2 separate regions of the Homo sapiens genome follow, and region 1 is linked to region 2. The links are contacts of gene promoters, found by promoter capture Hi-C in blood cells and fetal thymus (Javierre and others, 2016). All regions are on one chromosome and are shown on one strand. Each heading gives the region's core, a stretch centred on a gene start or on the middle of the fragment in contact. The rest is flanking DNA. Distances are from core to core; before and after follow the strand shown.

What was found. Contacts are between HindIII fragments. The CHiCAGO score rates a contact against its expected background, and 5 or more counts as called.
Region 1: a fragment that was not itself captured here is called in contact with the fragment with the promoter of PTBP3 in region 2 in 2 of 17 cell types (megakaryocytes and erythroblasts); the score reaches 6.6 in megakaryocytes.

What each region holds. Positions count from the first base shown.
Region 1 is chr9:112,248,555-112,254,035 of GRCh38, forward strand. PTBP3 (polypyrimidine tract binding protein 3) reads right to left here. Exons shown (of 14, transcript NM_001163788.4): 6 at 4,124-4,234; 7 at 2,375-2,549. It also overlaps the pseudogene RNA5SP295. Among named protein-coding and RNA genes, the nearest start is that of SUSD1, 76 kb to the left of the region's middle. The HindIII fragment of the contact is 980 bases long and covers 1,982-2,961 here.
Region 2 is chr9:112,330,837-112,336,400 of GRCh38, forward strand. PTBP3 (polypyrimidine tract binding protein 3) reads right to left here and starts at 2,783. Exons shown (of 14, transcript NM_001163788.4): 1 at 2,634-2,783. RefSeq lists silencers at 2,148-2,637, 2,788-3,107 and an enhancer at 2,857-3,827. The HindIII fragment of the contact is 11,957 bases long and covers 1,364-5,564 here.

The sequences.
Region 1 (5,481 bases), core at 1,222-3,721, 83 kb before region 2:
TCATTAGTAATTAGGAAAATGCAAGTGAAAACTATGTTAAGATACCATTTACCACACACTAAAATAAAATTTTTTTTAACCTCACTCCTTTCAGTAGGAGATGGCTTAAAAAAATTATTTTAATCTCACAATGCAGTTATAAACTGGTGCAATCACTTTGAAAACTGGCATTATGTAATGAAACTGAAGAAATATGTTCTCTATGACCCAACAATTCCTTTCCTATGTACTTCTTAGAGAAAACTCTTGTCCAGCAGGAAAGAATGTTCATAGTAGCATCAAACTAAAACAACCAAACTATTTATCAACAATAAAATGGATAAACAAACCATGATCTATTATTCTTCCAATGGGATACTACAGACTTGACCGTACTGAGAATGAATGAGCAACAGCCACATGTATGAATATGGATGAATCACCAAAGACATACAGGGCAAATAAAGTCACAGAAGAAAACCAGCATGAGTCCATTTATGTAAGGTTCTAAATACAGCTTTAAAATTTTTCTAATGCTTTAAAGTATTGAATGCTTTAAAAAATTTTTAAGTTGCATTTAGGGATATATAATGAGTGGTAAAAAAACAACAGGAAAACAGAAAAGCAAGAGAATAATTATCAAATTTGGGACTGTGGTTATCTTGGGGGAAGGAGAGTGAACAAAAGTGATGAAGAAAGGTACACGGGGTGCTTCTTCAGTATGTATAAATATTTTATTTCTTAACCTGGGTGGTAGTCACATGGGTGTTTATATACTTACGTGTTTTATAAGCTTTTCTATAGGTATAACAAATGTCACTAAAAGTAAGGACATAGTGCTTATGACTCAGCCCTAGAAACTGTAAAGAGAAACCTTTAAAAGAGAAAGAACAGCCAGTGAAGTAGGAAGAAAGTAAGGAGAGTGGTGTTTCAGAGGCCAAAAGAAAAAAGAAGTGAATAGTGAAACTGTGTCAAATACTAGTGATAGGCAAAGTAGAGAAACTTTCACACAATATATAAAGTGCATTGTTCTCTCTCTGATGAATCACTTTTTCAGGATGTAGACATTATTTTGCAGTGACTAAGGATTTACTAATAACATTAATGAGAAAGGATATGAACATTCTGATATTTTATATTCAGAAATCAAAATTCTTAACATATTTTTAAAATGTCCTCCTCTCATAATACAGAACATTAATTGCACCAAGAGTATATAATCAATTATTAGAATAAGTGAATTCTTAAATTTGATAGCTGAGTTTTGGCAAACTTTAATTTGCCCCAGTATTTTTTTTTTTGCACCAAATATTTCTATCATTTGTTATTAAAATGGTAATGACAAAAGACCTTTGTCACTGCCAAATCAGATAAGTAAGTTAGGGGCTGGTAACAAATACAAAACACAAAAATTTGGTCAAAGAACCCAAAACAGACATTTTATCAATATTAGAAAGATGCATTGAATCATTCCCTTGGCTTTTTAAATTAAAAATAATAAAAAAGCTTTTACTTTAAAATAATGAACTATTTTTCAGAAGGGTTTGGACAATCATTTGGTTGTCTTAATTTTATAATTTGATTGTCTTAATTCTTTTAATTTTCTCACCTATAAAACATGATGAACTAAATACTACTTAAAGTCCCAATTAGCAATATTTTACGGTGTTATTTGGAAAAGGAAAAATCAATCACAAAAGGTAGTAATACTTTAAGTAATAAACCACACTTTTGAGAACTGTGAAACCAAAAGTAGCATATACTAACCTAATAAGATATTCAAACTGGGCCATCCATTGCTTTTTCCTTAAGAGGTTTACTTTAAATAAAAGAGGGAGGCTCTTCAAAGCTACAATTTGCAGAGACAATTTAGAAGGCTGTATTTTTACTAATGCAAAATGCAACTTCACACAAGCTTAAGATACAGCTGGAAGTTCTGAAGTTTAGGAAACAAAACAAAATAAATCCTCTTCTTTGAATAAAAGATCATACTATTAATTTAAGCTTGATATAAAATATCACTACTTAAAAAAGGAAAAGTATTTTTCTCAAGAGCATATATGGCAAAATTATTATGGCTATAAACTAGCATATTTAAGTTAATGTTAATAAGACTACTAATTTGAAGCAAATGGTTTGTGGCTTTTAAAGAATGAGTAATATCAATGTTAGAAAATAAATTTGTAACTCAATTTCAGATATTCATCTGTCAACTAACAGAACCTCCTAATATTAATATTTAATTAATGGGTATACTTTGTTCTAGGATTCTTGCTTTCCTTTATAAATCCTGAGAGAACTCGAGAAGAAAAAGGCTTATAAACATACATGGCTTAATAAATGAAACTTGTAACTTCAGAAAACTTGCTTTGTGACCCAAAAAAGAACTACTCACCAAAAGCAGCAGCCATAGGGGGTTCAAGGGATGGCTGGCCATCACCAGTAGGAAGGTCTAAGCGAGTGAAGTCTCTGCTTTTGTCATTATTATATTTCACATTAAGGCTGGTGAGCTTGGAGAAGTCAATGCGCAGAGTGCAGCATGCATTATAGATATTCTGGCCATCCAGAGCCTAAAGCATGTAAGAAAGGGACTGGTTTTGGCAAGACAACAACACTGATAACCAAGAAGCCTCTACTTTGACAAAGAGTGGCAATCAGGTGTAAGGCAGAAAGCACTGACTAAAAAGCCAAAGTCTTGGGTTTACTTTTACCTCACAGTCATTAACTATGAGCCTAAGAGAGAAAAAGAAAATCTCTAAGTCTCAGCTTTCATCTGTAAAATAAGACTGATAATATTTATCTTGTCTGTGGTAAGATCAAATAAGAGAGGAGAAATGTAAAAGATTGGAAAACTACTGTCTATCATAGAAATGTTCACTATTATTATGATTATTTTGCCTATATCAAAAGTTTTAAGATACTCTGATTTTACATTCCACTTTAATTCATTTTAGTATAATTCACATTATACTAGGATGTGTAAGCTTTGTTAGGATGAAACAAAGCTTTTGTAAATGGTACTTGTCAGAGCCACAATACATAAAATATTACCTACCACTTATTTTTTTCTCTTGTAAATTTACTTTGTAATACTTTGAATAATAAACTGAGGAAAATGTGGAGTCAGTTGTAACCAAAGATTAGCAACCCCTTCCTTTGCAAGAATAAAAATTTACCTAAGGGTATTTGTGGCCACTTAACGACTTTCACAAATGCTTGAATTTATAAAAATAGATACCAGAAAGCAAATCACATAAAAATAAAACATATATATATATATCCTGATTTATAATAATGGTAATTGACAAGTATGCCATCGTAAAGGTACAAAATAATATATGCATGTTCAGGGTACAGCAAATATAAAGGCTATACTCCCAATTGAGTGCCAGACACTGTGTGGTACACAAAAGTACCACAAGCCATAGTCCTCATCTTTGACCAAAAAGTAGAAATGACTAGCAAAAACTGCTACAAGATGAAATTAGAGTCAGGGATAGATATCAACAAGAGGTATGTCTAAGATAATCGAACTGAATGTCAAGTTTTATTCTTGTCAAAATAGGTTTTCGTGTACTAAAAAAAAAAAGACAACACGAATTGATAGCAGCATATTTCCTAAGATTTAGTATCTCCACCAATTTAGAGCTCAACAGGAATAAACATTGAATACAGCTGCAAAAATGGTGAAATCAATCTCTGACTGATTTAACAGAAGTAAATGGTCTACAGCCATACCACCCTGAATGCACCTGATCTCATCTGATCTCAGAAGTTAAGCAGGGTCGGGCCTGGTTAGTACTTGGATGGGAGAAGTAAATGAAAGCACGAGGGTAATGATGGCTCTATTAGTCAGCTTATGTGAGGAGTACTGTGTTCAATTCTAGACTTTAAACATGACAAACAGGACCTGCGTCTCAGAGATGTGAGAGGTGATAGGAGATTTGAGACCGTTTCATATGAAGTAGTAATGATTTTTAGCTTAGAAAAAAAAAACATGGAATCATACACTTTAAAACGACTAAAATGGTAAACATGTATATTTTGCCACAATTTTTTTAAAAACACATGGTAAAGTGGGGCACAAGAGAAGGTATCACTGGAGTGATTAACAATTGAAAAATGAAACAAAGATCATAATTACCATTTTGGCATAATGTGCATTTACTGGGTCAGCATACTGAAGCAAGGCTTGAAACTGATTATTCTTTGTAAAGGTGATAATCTTCAAGACTGTGCCAAATTTAGAAAATATCTGGAAAACAGTTCACATTAGGTTAAATGTAAAAGAAAAGTATTAAACTGATGTATCTTTATAAATACAACTTGTTCATAAATCCTTTTAAATGAAAATTTTCTCTTGAAAACTTTGGTACCAAAATGACTTAAGCCTAAAACATTAACATTTCAATACCCATGACTATCTTACAACAACGCCCGGTACACAACAGGCACTTAAATAACTAGCCTATTTTATGGGATATATAAATGGTACAGTATTAAAATAGGAGACTACAATAATCAATGGTATGAGATGTGTTACAAAGCATATGAATAAAAGTGGGAGTCATGGACCAACTATTTCACCCTGTGAAGAATCATCTACTTTTTGAGATTTCTGTAGCCACTAGAAGATGTTCAACTAGAGGCTGCTCTATTAATTCACCAAATATTTGGAAAGACAGCAGTAAACAAAACAGAGACAAAAGTCTATGCCCACATGCAGACAATAAACAAATGACAAATATCCTAATATCTGGTGATTTTTAGAAGTCTTACGAATAAAAATAAAAGAAGGGAAGGGGTGAGCACGAACCAGAATGCAAGATGAGACAGTGCAAGAGTGGTGGCCAAAGAAGGCCTTTCTGAAGTGTCTTTTGAGAAGAAAAGAGTGAGGGGAAGGCTTCCTGACACCAATATCCTCACAATACGTGTGCTACCTCAGCATCACAGGGTTCACGGCCAGGGTTACTATTAATAGTAACTCATTTCTGAAGGACTAAATAGGGGGGATAAAACAACAACATATTTAGTTTTACTCTGTTGATATGGTTTGGCTCTGTGTCACCACCCAAATCTCATCTCAAATTGTGATTCCCCACATGTCAAAAGAGAGACCTGGTGGGAGGTGACTGGATCATAGGGACAGTTTCCCCTTTGTTGTTCTCGTGATAGGGAGTTCTCAAGAGATCTGATTGTTTAAAAGGGGCAGTTTCCCCTGCGCACTCTCTCTCTCCTGCCACCATGTGAAGAAGGTCCTGGCTTCCCCTTCGCCTTCTGCCATGACTGTAAGTTTCCTGAAGCCTCCCCAGCCATGCAGAACTGTGAGTCAATTAAACCTCTTTTGTTTATAAATTACCCAGTCTCAGGGAGTATCTTTATAGCAGTGTGAAAATGAACTAATATTCACTCCATTTTAAATTTGAATCTTAAAACAAGAATTTGTTCTGCTTTTGAGATTAAAAAAGTTAAGTATTCCCTATGCTGGTAAGATTTTGCTGT
Region 2 (5,564 bases), core at 1,533-4,032:
TCGTGTCTGAGGTTTTAAATGAAACAAAACCAGTGCTTGGATTTTACAGAAATAGAAGGCATCTTGCAAATCTGCATTTACCACCCAAAATTGCTCACCAAAATATAGTTAAGACAGTCTCTCAGAACTAAAATAAATACAAACATCACATTTCAGACATCAAAATTTTCAAAGATTTGCTTTTTAAAAATATTCTATCACGTCAAAACTGTGTTTAAGTATAAATTATCTCTTAGGAGGAAACGAACACACACACACACACACACACACACACACACACACACACACACGAGAGACAGTTGGGATTTGAGGAGGAACTAGAAAGATATGTTGACTGGTGGCTTGTGGTTTGTTTTTTAACTACCCAAATAAGGAAAAAGGATCTTTTTCAGGCTGTTGGAAAATGTAGAAATTTAATTAGTCTCCTGAAGGCAAAAATGCACTGTATTCTTAAACCACATCCCTTAAGACCAGGGTGTGAAAATCCCCTTTAAAGTCCTGCCATACAAAAATTCTTCTCTTCTAAGCCCCAAGAAACTGTCTTCGATTAATGTTTTTCTTCATATCTCCTAGAAGAAAGCTACGAATACATTCTACATATTGTTAATAACCTATGTCATCATTACCTCATAAAAGTCAACGAATAAATGACTCTAGATGATGTAAACTGTTTTTAAAATACCACGTAGATTTTTTATTTTTCCTTGTAAACTTCTGAAACTTGAAATTCATTTGTCTAAAATTTAAATGTGATAAGTAACTGGACGCTTGCTGCATAAAAAATAAAATGGTGTAACACTATGGTTATTGGTTCTGATACAAAGGGCAAATCATGCTCCGACTTGAACTTCCAAATGAACTTACCTTCCAGTCAGTATCTGTATAACTGCCTTGCATATTCAAACCAATAAACCCATTACTACCTTTAAAACCACAAATAGCGTGAAGGGAGAGTAAACTTCTTAAACACTATCAAAAAGTAAGTTTGCACTTCACAGTTATCCTACAGTTTAACAGCAAAGACGCAAAATTCAAGAGTCCTCTTTATTATAACTATACATTTTACGACACAAAAAAATAGCCTGCTTCCATTATTTAAGTCAAACCTTCCAGACAATTAACTACACATAATGAAATGCTAAATTCACAGCCTGCCTGAACCAAAATATTAGTGACACAAATCTTTACGACCACAAAATTTTTCAACATATAAAATGCAACTGAATAAGGTAATGTGAAATAAGTTTTCAACAATGTTCTCGAAGAAACTTCAATCAAACAATAAAAACAGCTTCAATTCCCCCCCAAAATATATACACCTACTGTGTACCCAAAAAAGTTATAATTTTAAGAAATTTTTTGAAGCTTCAATCAAATAAAAATAAAGAACATCACAATCATGAATAAAATCTAAAACTCCACTTTGATGTCTGTAGCAGTGTGCAATCTGCATTCAAATGAATCAATCCGAAATGTCATATACACTTAATATTGTGAAACTAAAATAAATGAAATCTAATGAGGTCAAAAGCTGTTGGAAGATTTCATCTTCAAATAGCATATCATCAACTGTATGGCAACATGTGAACGACTTTTACTGTTCTAGCAAGTTGCATATATTCCACAACCTCACAGAAATCTTGTCATCAAAAGTAGGTAACAAGCTAAAAAAAACCTCAAATACATAATGGGAATAAACCGAGTTGGAGATTTTTTTTTAATCCGTAGGTACAGATACTACAACCTTCAATTAATTCACCAAAATCCTAACATAGTTGTTACTTTAATTACCAAAATATGTCAAGTCCCACCCCATATCCCTGAGTCCCCAGAGAACAGTTTATATACATAGACTCTAAATCTTTTTATTTTGGTCACGGACCCCCATTAAATTTTTGAGCATTTGAAATGCCCCCGAAAATCGCTCGTACATCATATTTTACATACACGGGCAGATAATTCATTAAGTTTCTTGGGGAGAGAGAAAGGTGAGGGGGAAGCGTCCATGGTCACTAAGTCCAGACCCCTGGTGTCGAGAAAGCGTTAACGTATCTCACAGCACAAGTCGGGAGACCTCGGCCAAGTCCCGCGGCGGCCCTGGGACCCCGCGTGGGACCATGGCTTGCGACCAGGTCGCCGCCCAGACGTGTACCGACGCGTGCACCCGCCGTCGGCCGCTCGCCCCACCTCGCCGGTAAACAGCAACTCCCCCGGCAGGAGGACGCCCGCCCCGCGCGCCGCCTCCGCCTCCCCCAGCGCCGCGCACCATTTTCTGAGAGGAAGTGTCGGGAGGCCGAGCTGGGCTCCCCGGACTCGGGGCGCGGAGGGCGGACCTCGGCACCGCGGCCGGACCGGGCTTTCCTCTGCTCCCGGGTGTGTCGAGTAAGGCTAGGAAGCAGCGGACGTGTCCGGGGCGCCGCGTGGGGAAAGGAGAGCCTGCGGCGGACGGCAACTCCGCGATTCCGGGATCCCCACCGAGACGCCCGGAAGCCCCGCCGTCGGGCTTGGCCGGGGCCGCTCCTCCGGCCGCCGGCGCCGCGCACTGCTCCCCAGCCCTTACGCGTCCCGCGGAGAGCCGGGTGGAAGCGGCGCCAAGGCAACCCGGTGCGGCCGCCGCGCCGCCTAGTACTTACCCATCCATGGCCCAGATGGAGGCGCGCACAGAGCAGGGACTGACGGGCTAACCGCGAGCAGAGGAAGCAGGCGGCGGCAGCAGGGCGGTTCCGGGGACAAGCGAGCTTTGGCTCTGCGGAGCCCCGGCCGGTCCGAGGTGGAAGGAGAGTGGGAACAGGGGCGGGGACCGGGCACGCTCCCGCCACCGCCGCGCCCCCGCCTTCCCCACCCCGCGAGCGCGTCCCCGCCTAGCCCGACCCCGCCCCCTCACCGTCCCCGCCCTCCCTCGGGGCCCGCCCCTGCGCTCGCGCCCACCCTCGCCCCGCTGGCAGCCGGCCTCCGGCTCAGCTCTGGGGCGCCCTCTTCCCGCGGTCGCTGTAAGACCCCGCCTCTCGGCCCCTCGGCCCGGCGCGCGCGCGCGCCCCCAGCCTCCCTCCTGCGTTCGCGGGAGCGCGCGCCTTGTGCTTCCCGCTCCGCCGCGCACCCCGCCCGCCCTCCCGCGGCCCCGCGGGCCTTCCGGCTTCGCAGACCGGGCCTGCCAGGTTTGAATGCCTCCCTCTGCCGGCAGGAAAAGCTATGGGGACCTGACTCCCAAGAGTAGGAAGGAATGTCCCACAAGGACCCCAGAAACGAGGTGGAATTGCCCCGGGTGCGCGAGGCTGTAGATGACACGTCCAGGGACCAGCCTCTGGCAGCCCGGCGCTGGAGTCGACCGCTGGGACCGACACCAGCCCCATAGGTGTGGCTGGGACGATGAATGAGGTGAAAGAGGCTGCCCGGACTGGAATTTGTATACAATTTAAGTATCTGAGTGCATTTCGACCTAACCGTCTAGTATTGAATTTATATGAAAAATTCATTGTACAAACATGGAATGGCTATATTCCCAGCATTTTTTAAAAGTTTACTCATTATTCCCTTTTTTCAGATGAAAATACATATACAAAGAGAGTGATTTGCTCACAGTTTCACAACCAGGAAACGTTTGCACCAGAGCCCTTCCCTCTGGTCTGAGCAAAAAGTATATATATAATATAACGAGTGACAACACGCTTGCTTTTTTCCCTTTTTAGTGAGAAATTGAGTACTTTTTCAACTCACAGATCACCAAAATGTAACCCCCTAAACTGTTAAGCCAAATTCTTAACCTACTGAGTAAAAAAGAGCGGGGCTCCTCCCCGTGGCTTCGTCATTTGAAAAGCAACTAACAAGAACCTCAAACATCTATCCTTGCTAATTTCCTGCTTTCAGATCAGTAGGTGCTGCTAAAAAGATCTAAACTGTGGACTCATTCATCATTCAGTCAGTATTAACCTACTATGTGCCGGGCACTGCATGAATACACAAGAAAATCAGGTTCCAGCCGTCACTGTTGAATGGATTCTTCAGTCCGTTTATGTATATTTTTGACATACAACTTTTCAAATAGGTAGAGTAATTCGGTGAGGTAATTCTTAAAGTCCTGTATCTAACCTCAGTCCCCTTCCAAAATGTCAAATACATTTTGTTTTGTATATTAAATCTAAATATTAAGTTGCATTTGTAAACATTGCCAGATGGAAATGTAGAATATCAACAAGATAAGTAGCTGATGCAGTCTTTCTATCACTGTATTTGGGATATATTCTGTTGATGAAATTTCCTTAACCCTTTTTTTAGCTACACAAGTAATATCAGCATAAATGCTCATTTTGGAAAATTCAAGCACTATAAAATATTGAAAAGTTATCATTAATATTTTTCTTCCCAAACCACCCCCTGCCCATGACTACCACTGTAACAATTCTGCGTGCATCCTTCTGGACCTTACTTTTTTTTGTTGTTTGTTTTTTTGTTTTTTTGTTTTTTTGTTTTGAGACGGAGTCTTGCTCTGTCTCCCAGGCTGGAGTGCAGTGGCACAATCTGAGCTCACTGCAACCTCTGCCTCCCGAGTTCAAGTGATTCTCCTGCCTCAGCCTCCTGAGTAGCTGCGATTACAGGCGCCCGCCACCACGCCTGGCTAGTTTTTGTGTTTTTAGTAGAGACAGGGTTTCACCATGTTGGTCAGGCTGGTCTCGAACTCCTGACCTTGTGATCCACCCACCTCAGCCTCCCAAAGTGCTGGGATTACAGGTGTGAGCCACCGCACCCAGCGACCTTTACCATTTTTCTTTTTTTTTTTTTTTTTTTTCACCTAAAAATCCTGGATTATAGCTGGGCATGGTGGCTCACACCTGTAATCCCAGCACTTTGGGAGGCCGAGGCGGGCAGATCACTTAAGGTCAGGAGTTCGAAGCCAGCCTGGCCAACATGGTGAAACCCCCCATCTCTACTAAAAATAGGAAAATTAGTCTGGCTTGGTGGTGCACGCCTGTAATCCCAGCTACTCAGGAGGTTGAGACAGGAGAATCTCAACCCGGTAAGCAGAGGTTGCAGTGAGCCGAGATCACACCACTGCACTCCACCCTGTGTGACAAAGTGAGACTCCAGGCTGGAGTGCAGTGGCACAATCTCGGCTCACTGCAACCTCTGCCTCCCAGGCTCAAGCAATTCCCCTGCCTCAGCCTCTGGAGTAGCTGGGATTACAGGCACCTGCCACCCTGCCTGGCTAATTTTTGTATTTTTAGTAGAGACAGAGTTTCACCATGTTGGCCAGGCTGCTCTTGAACTCCTGACCTCAAGTGATCCACCCACCTCGGCCTCCCAAAGTGCTGGGATTATAGGCATGAACCACTATGCCCAGCCTCATAATTTCATTTCATAATTTAACCTTTTCCAAAACAGTGGAAATTACGTTGTTTCCAAGTATTCAAAATAACTAACACTATTGCAGAAAATATCATGAATGTATGAGTATCTTTGCACACATATTATTACATCTGAGGAATAGATCCCTAGAAGTAGAATTGAGAAACAAAGGACATAAGCCTTAATATCCTTTATATAATTCAACAATCCTTTATATAAAGCCT